Regions from separate parts of the Homo sapiens genome. Here region 1 is linked to region 2. The links are contacts of gene promoters, found by promoter capture Hi-C in blood cells and fetal thymus (Javierre and others, 2016). All regions are on one chromosome and are shown on one strand. The core of a region is centred on a gene start or on the middle of the fragment in contact, and the rest is flanking DNA. Distances in the headings are between cores, read along the strand shown. Region 1 overlaps CGN (cingulin). Region 2 holds the start of PI4KB (phosphatidylinositol 4-kinase beta).

What was found. The method cuts DNA at HindIII sites, captures the fragments that hold promoters and counts their contacts. A CHiCAGO score of 5 or more calls a contact.
Region 1: a contact is called between a fragment that was not itself captured here and the fragment with the promoter of PI4KB in region 2, in 1 of 17 cell types (erythroblasts). The highest score is 6.4, in erythroblasts.

What each region holds. Positions count from the first base shown.
Region 1 is chr1:151,536,522-151,540,485 of GRCh38, forward strand. It overlaps CGN (cingulin), which reads left to right. Exons shown (of 21, transcript NM_020770.3): 20 at 209-372; 21 at 684-2,171. The coding sequence ends at 825. It overlaps TUFT1 (tuftelin 1), which reads left to right and starts at 3,788. Exons shown (of 13, transcript NM_020127.3): 1 at 3,788-3,905. The coding sequence starts at 3,846. RefSeq lists enhancers at 2,533-3,049, 3,565-3,964. The HindIII fragment of the contact is 2,278 bases long and covers 1,161-3,438 here.
Region 2 is chr1:151,325,499-151,329,755 of GRCh38, forward strand. PI4KB (phosphatidylinositol 4-kinase beta) reads right to left here and starts at 1,918. Exons shown (of 12, transcript NM_001369623.2): 1 at 1,773-1,918. RefSeq lists an enhancer at 1,426-2,350 and a silencer at 2,286-2,355. The HindIII fragment of the contact is 3,220 bases long and covers 1-3,018 here.

The DNA.
Region 1 (3,964 bases), core at 1,050-3,549, 210 kb after region 2:
ATTGAGTGCTTATGATGTGCTAGGTTCTGTAAGTATTACACATGTGTTAATACATTTAATCCCTAAGACAACCATGTGAGGTTAAGGAACTTGCCCAAGGCCACATTTTTCCAGCGGCAATTATACCTTGTCAAGATTGTTATGGGGGAGGGTCCCAGGCCATGGTAGTAGATGCTATTCAGATGTGTGGACTTGGTATCCTGCCCAGCTAAGCCTGAGGGTGAAGGCTTTGAAGCGTCAGGTGGATGAAGCAGAAGAGGAAATTGAGCGACTGGACGGCCTGAGGAAGAAGGCCCAGCGTGAGGTGGAGGAGCAGCATGAGGTCAATGAACAGCTCCAGGCCCGGATCAAGTCTCTGGAGAAGGACTCCTGGTATGGGCTACCCTTTTGCCCTTGCTCCATAGGGACACTAGAGCAGGGAGGGAATGGTCTCTCCTGTGCTGGATAAGGAGGAGAATCTCTAACATGGTACTGTGTAGTCACTTGTTTCTGGTTGGAAGCCAGTATATTTATTTATTAGTATCTCAGCCACCATCCTGTACCTCCCCAAATCTGATTAGTTGGGGATTTTGTGAATAAACTTTAGGCCTTAGAAGAATTGGGGTTTCCTTTGTACAAAAAGGGTGGCTGTCTTAATATTTCTATTTTCCCCTCCCCAACCATTATTCTTCTCTCTGAGTCAGGCGCAAAGCTTCCCGCTCAGCTGCTGAGTCAGCTCTCAAAAACGAAGGGCTGAGCTCAGATGAGGAATTCGACAGTGTCTACGATCCCTCGTCCATTGCATCACTGCTTACGGAGAGCAACCTACAGACCAGCTCCTGTTAGCTCGTGGTCCTCAAGGACTCAGAAACCAGGCTCGAGGCCTATCCCAGCAAGTGCTGCTCTGCTCTGCCCACCCTGGGTTCTGCATTCCTATGGGTGACCCAATTATTCAGACCTAAGACAGGGAGGGGTCAGAGTGATGGTGATAAAAAAAAAAAATCATCAGCAATAAGCTGATAGATGGACTTTCCACTGTAGGAGTGGACATTTCAAGCCAACTGAGCCTTTTCCTCAAGTGCCGACACCTCCCTCATCTCTCTTATAGTGGAAGGATGGTCAGCATTAGGCTGATGGGGACTGAGAAGGATAGGAAGGGATAGAAATTGCCATGTGTATAAAGCTTTATTCTTTAGCCCTTAACCCTAAGGCTCAGGGAAATACCCTATGTTATTGTGCTCCCTGGATTCCTGCAACTCATTTTCCTTCCACTCTGGAGCAGGGTGAGGGGAATGTTATGGGTAACAGACATGCAGGCATGGCTCTACCCATTTCTTTGCACAAGTATGGGGCCCATGTGGTAGTCCCCATACCCCTCCAGTTCCTATATTTTTGTCTTCTTCCTTTCCCCTCTTTGCCATTCCTACCTTGCATTTTTCCTGTCAGTGCCTTAGCCAAGGCAAGGAGATAAGGATGCTCTTCTTGCTTTTTATATCTGCACATTCATACCTCTCCAAAGACCAGCTTTTCCCCAGCCAGGGCCCTCAGCCTTCCCTGCTGCCCCAGTGATTGATTGAGAGAGCTGTTGGGGTTTCTCTGCCAATGACCCCTGGGAGAGGGACTTTGGTAGGGTCATGATAAAGTGGCGGGGGTCTGGTCCTGCTCAGGGTTTTCATCCTTCCTCCTCTCCCTCCTCTGTGACTGTGGATATGGTTATAAGGTGGTTGCACCTGGGAGCCCTGACAACTGGCTGCACAAATTCCAAAAGTAAAGGTGTCAGTCCCTGTGGCCTTCCTTGGGGCTTCTCTGACCACATGTGCCCAACTTCAATAAGAGAACCAAGGGACCCTCATTTTCTGAGGTGCTTGGCTCTGATTCAGGGCTTTGCAAGGGGTTAGAAGCTGACTGTAAAAATGGGAAGAGGCAACGGAAGACATTTATTTCTCCTTTGGATTTTGGGGAGAACCAAGCCCTGGTAGGGAAGAGGTAAGGGGGATGATTCACCTCCATATTTCCTAAGCAGGTTGTATAGGGAGCCGGTGGCAGGAGGAAGGCTGTTTTCACAAATGACTTGTAATGTCGTGATTAAAAAAATTCCTATATTCTTCTGCAAATCAAACGTTCTTTCCCAATCCAATCCAGCCTTGGTTTTATTTTAAATTAAATATTAAAATTACACATTTATATTGAAATCCTTGGTTTGTCTTCTCATTCTTTTTCTTGGCATATTTGGAGGTCCAGATTTTATGAAGTCATATTAACTGTACAGCTTAGGAGCCGAAGCTGGAGTTTTCTTCACCTGACTTTTCAGAGGCCCTTTAGAACAGAGCAGATGGGACCTACGAAACCTGGAGATGTTTATAGCAGCCCCATTCTCTTCTCTCCTGAACAACCTTCTGGGAAGAACAAGGACAGTAAATGCCTTTTTTTTTTTTTTTTTTTTGAGACGGAGTCTCACTCTGTCACCCAGGCTGGAGTGTAATGGCATGATCTCAGCTCACTGCAACCTCTGCCTCCCGGGTTCAAGCGATTCTCCTGCCTCAGCCTCCTGAGTAGCTGGGATTACAGGCGCGTGCCTCCACACCCAGCTAATTTTTGTATTTTTAGTAGAGATGGCGTTTCACTGTGTTGGTCAGGCTGGTCTCAAACTCCTGACCTTGTGATCCGCCCACCTCGGCCTCCCAAAGTGGTGGGATTACAGGCATAAGCCACTGCGCCTGGCCAGCAGTAAATGCCTTTTTGAGGGTTAGAGTAGAACAGACCAGAACTGGGTTTTATTCCCTTGGGTCATAGTGATAACCCCAGCATTCACTTCCCAGGTAGAAAAATCCTCATTCATTCCTAACTGACATAGGACCCAGTCCCTAACTGGGAGGTAGGGACATTTCTGCTGTTCCTGCCCTAGTGTTGCCTTGAAGAGGGAGCTGGCCCTTCACTAGAGCCTATTGCCAGGTATAGGAGTACTATCCCTTCAGGAGTGGGTCAGACCTCCTCCTAAAGTATTCTGTCTGCTGTCTCTGTGGACCACAGCCAAGTGAAGAAGCCATCTGCCAAGAGCAGCTGGGCGGGGACGAAGCTCCAGGGTCCTGCTTGGCCAACCCTCTCTTCTAGGCCCTCAAGATCCCAGCCTAGGCTTGGGGAGAAAATGCAACTGGAAAAGTCAAGGCTCATCCTTTCTCACGAACACAAATTCCTTTTAAGGCAATGTGTCCCGCCTCTCCCAACTATATAAGGGCAGCGTCAGTAAAAGAGCTTCTGCAAAACAAGCCCCACCCAGAGCCTAAGCTGACTGGGCCTCCTGGGCCTCTTGCCAAGGAAGTGCACCTGCCAGACTGGCTTAGGCCAGTCTGAGTGAGCTGGACCTTGGTGCCTGCCTTTCTGCGGTGGAGGAAAGGTTTACTCAGCTCCACAAAGCCTACAGGTGGCTTACGTATAGGGAGAGGAGCATGTATGGAAGGAAGCTTTTGCAGGTTCCAACTCCTCATCCACTAGGAGCAGGCAGGGTGATTCCCTCTGACCAACACTGATCTTGGAAAGATGGAAAGCGACAAGATTAATGAAGAATGTGCAACCACATACTCCAGATAAAGCTGTTCAGTTAAAGCAGCCCCATGTCGCTCCCAAGCCCCACCTTTGTGTAAATCTATGCGAGCACCGATGGGGCATGTCCCAGACCCATTGGCTCCGCCCACCTCACCTCCTCGCCTATCGTTAGTTCTCTGCGAAACCGCGAACTGGGGGCGCGGCCTATCTTCAGCCCCGCCCCTGATGGGCCTATACAAGGGGGCGGTTCCGCGCGCGCCCGCCCAGTTGGAGCCAGACAGCGGGGTGGACAAGTGGCGTGTGTGCTGCGACCCCGAGGGAAGATGAACGGGACGCGGAACTGGTGTACCCTGGTGGACGTGCACCCAGAGGACCAGGCGGCGGTAAGAAAAAGCGCTCTCGCTGTCTTCTCCGTTTTGTATTCCCGGTTTCTAAGTCCGCC
Region 2 (4,257 bases), core at 668-3,167:
CTCTTTTCCAGCCAGCTTCCTCAAAGTGCTTTCCCACAAACATACTTTCTACCTATAGAATCTGGAGTTATGGATCAAGTACGTGAGGAACAGGACAGAAAATCAGCCACTTAATGCACTGGGGGAAAAAGCAAAGCAGATGAAGGAAGCAGGCCTGGAGCTTGTCTTTCAAAATGACTTACACCCCTGGTTGTGGACTAGAAACATCTGACAGAAAGACCAAGGTGAAGGAAAATTCTCAGGATGACTAAACCACTACTAATAAATACCTTTTGCCTGAGGAACCCAAAATGTTTTGTAAACAAATAAACCAAATCTGATTTTTTCCCCCAACCCACATCCTGCTACCAACTTATTACTGCACTGATGCCTACAGAGAGTGGGCATTTTCCAAAAGGATCACTCTAGAGGTCAAGTGAGGAAGTCACATGCTGAACCCAGGAGTCCCGATTCTGAATGTACAAGCTCTTTCCATTGTCTCATGTTCCTTTTTCCAGTTATACCCTTACCCCACTCCAGGCCTGAATTCTTATGGAACCAACCAAAACTATTCTAGTAAACCACAAGAATAAACTGATTCCTCATGGATCTGGACAGGGGTGAGAAGGCACTCTATTCTGTGATTCCTTTAACAAAAGCCTAAAATTAAATAATCTGAAACAAGTTTTCTCACAATCTCATTCAATTTCCACGCAGGCCTGTTCATCCCTCTTAGTGGCTGCTCCGGAGTAGTCAACCAAGTGTAATCTGATAGGGACTTCTTCAAAACTTGCTCCGGCCTTCAGAAACACCCTTCTGTCCTGAACGGCCTGAGGCAGCTGAGGCTCCCCCTGCTCACAACACATTTTTCTTCTTAGTTCAAGGTTTAGTTGATCCTGAAATAAGTGGTATGTGGAGATAAAGAGTGTAACAGAGAACACATGAAGCCCACGGGAAAAACAGAACAAATGTCACAAGGATCAGAGAAATCCCTGAAACTCGAGGGAGGTGTCAAAGTTGGAAATCCTGAATGGGAAGGGCACTGTCAAATCTCTCCCCTACAGACAGAAACCTCTAGAAAGTTGGGGGATTGAGGAGGGAGAAAGAGAAGCTAAAGAAAGTTATAGGGATCATAATGCATCCCAGAGAAGAGTGAGGACTAGGTTCAAAGTAAGAATGTAAATGGTACTTTTGGATTGATGACAAGGGCCCGAGATCCCTTAAGGAGAAGGGAACAGGCAATTCTTGGAAGCCAGGAGCTGGCTGGGTAGGTGGGTGACAGTGAGGTAATGGAATCAGAAGCAGCACAGGAAGACAGGGATGCAATCTTTAGCTCAGGGAAATGGGAACCCAGTGCTGGAGTTGCACAGGGACATAGGAGGAAAAGTGCAAACTAGGAAAAGAGATAAAGGTGGAGTCCATGGAAAAGGTTTGGGGCAGGGGCAGAGACGACGAGGAAGGACAAGGATGGGCATTATGGGAGTCGTCTGATATGGAAAGGGTTCATGACTTAAAAAAAAGAATTATTCGAGACGTAGGCAACAGGGATGAGTGAGGGAGGGGGGAATCCCCGAGGCAGAGGGAGGAGCTAATAGAAGAGGAAGCCAAAAAGCGGAGGAGGACCCCAGGCCTGAGAGGAAAGGGTGGAGAAGGAACCCGGGGTGCAGCTGACACCAAGAGGGCAGTTTCGTAGTCGAACTCAGGTGGGGAAGACTGTGCGGGACAGGGTGGGAGAGGGACCCCCCCCCCCACCCAACAGGGCAAAGGTGACTCATGAAGGAGGAGTAGCTTACCTCTGGGGGACCCCCGCGGAGGGGGTGCGGGCAGTCGCGGTTGGACTGCCGACACTGCCGCCTCAGCAGCAGCGACCGCTCCCGGGTTCCATTGGCCGCCTGCGCTTCCCTGACAGCGGCCGCGGAGGCTGCACCAGGCCCCGGCTGCGGGGCTGCCCGCGGCGCCGCCTGAGGGGGCCTTCAGGCTGCCACAAGTTCGACCGGGCCACACAACCTCTTCTTCCTCCCTCAGTACAACCAAGACCAAAAAAATAATAAAATAAAATAAAATTCCCCAGCAGGTCTCGATGTAGTATTCTTCTCCGGAGTCCAAGCCAAGCCTTTCTTCCCAGGATACGCTTTCCTGCTTCCCCAGCGGTCAGGACCCTACCGATTCCATAGTAATCTAAGGAGTCGGGTGAGCTGCCTGGAACATGCCTGTTCAGAAATAGAAAAGGGGGCGGGGAAAAGATGTTTGGAAGCTCTCGAGGGAGAGAGGGCGAAGGGAGGAGCTTACGGGTGGGAGGAGGGGCCAATATTTAAGAAGCGGACCTAAGCGATAGCGTTTGCGAGGCTAAAGAAGCCGAGAGAGAAGTAAAATTTGCTGCATAAGTAGGGTGAGCAGGCGGCCGTGGGTGCCCTGTTAAAGAAGTATGGACATATGCATACTTCCAGAAGTATATTAACATGCAAGTTATATGTAAACGACCGTTTGAGTAACTAACCAAATTACCGTAATTGCAATCAATGACTTTTCCCCCTCCCGTATGCTACAAGACTCCCTTAGTAAATCAGGCCGTGGGATGGACGCTGGGTTCCTAGAAGGGCGCGCAGGAAGACGGCGGACGGGGAAGACGTTCTTTCTGACTGCCCTTTTCCTACTTATCTTGGAGGACGATGCGGAGTTTAAGCTCCTTAACATTTCGGGAATGGCGCGGTCCAACCGCGTCAGTCTTTTCGCCGTTAGAGGCCCGACTCGAGGCCGTGGTTCTGCCTCCGAGGTCACCAACCTGCCTGGGCAGCCTGTGACCTCCAGCATCCATATGCCCAGCCCTCCAGGGAGGGGCTGGACAGGGCCAGGTTGGGAGAGGTGAGTGAAACGACAAAGGCTTGGAGGGCACAATCCCTTCTTCCAAACAAAACGAAACCATATTAGGCCAAACAAATAAACAAAAACACGCCATGCAAATGGGCCTCTGGTGTTGCTTTTGTGTATTTTTCGTTTGTTTGTTTGTTTTGTAAAGACAGGGTCTTGCTATGTTGCCCAAGCTTGTCTCGAACTGTTAGCCTCAAGCAATCTGCCGGCCTCAGGTACCAAAGTGCTGGGATTATAGGCCCGACCTCGCCCAGCAAGTTTTTTGTGTATTTTTCGGTTAAGATTGTTGATTTAGAGCCCTCTTTGTCCTCAGAACCTCTATCTCAATGCCTTTCCTAGGGCTTTACTTAATATGCAATGCCCCTCATTAGTGCCTTACTTAATACATTGAGGCTAGTTATTTGAGCCCGGGTCTTGAATGCCATCTTCCCTGCCACTTACAAGCCGTTTGATTTGGAATAACTAATGTAACCTCTTTAAACCTCAGTTTCTATGTCTACAAAGAAGACATATGGATGAAGTAATATTAGCCCATTACAGGGTTTTGTTAGGATCAAGAGAGTACAAGTTGCTACTATAGTACTTTATTATTAATTATTGGGACAATCATACAGGATAGATGATGAAAGAGTCACTGCTACAATGTTTAATTGGAAGGCAGAATAAAGTGTAATAGCTTGAAAATGCCTGTGTAAAACATGCAGTATATACAACAGTAGAACAAATGGGGTACCTAACCTAATTGCTGAAGGGACATAGTGGAGTTTAAGTTAATTTGGAAGGCCTATATGTGTATGGACACACACACATACACACACACACACACACACACACACACACACACACACCAGTATATGGTGAATGAATGAATGGAAGGCTTCTTAGAAATATTGTGAGTCAGGTCTTAGAATAGATATTGGATATAACCCAGCAAAATAAAAGACAAGCGAGCATTCTGAAAGCAAAAAAATTGTATGTTGAAGAATATAAATGGGAATTTGCTCATATCATGAGGAGAGGGCAAGCAGACAAGCTAGGTTAAAGCAGGAGTACAGTATGAAAGATGAACAAAGAATGGGGACAAGAGTGCCAAAGATAGTTTAAATTTGTCAGCTGGGCACAGTGGCTCACACCTGTAATCCCAGCACTTTGGGAGGCTGAGGTGGGCAGATTGCTTGAGCTCAGGGGTTTGAGACCAGCCTGGGCAACATGGTGAAACCACGTCTCTTCAAAAATACAAAAATTAGCCTAGCTGGCATGGTGGCATGCACCTGTAGTCCCAGCTACTTAGGAGGCTGAGGTAGGAGGATCACTTGAGCCTGGGAGACAGAGGCTGCAGTGAGCCAAGATCATGCCACTGCACTCCAGCCTGGACAACGGAGTGAGACCCTGTCTCAAAAAAAAAAATCG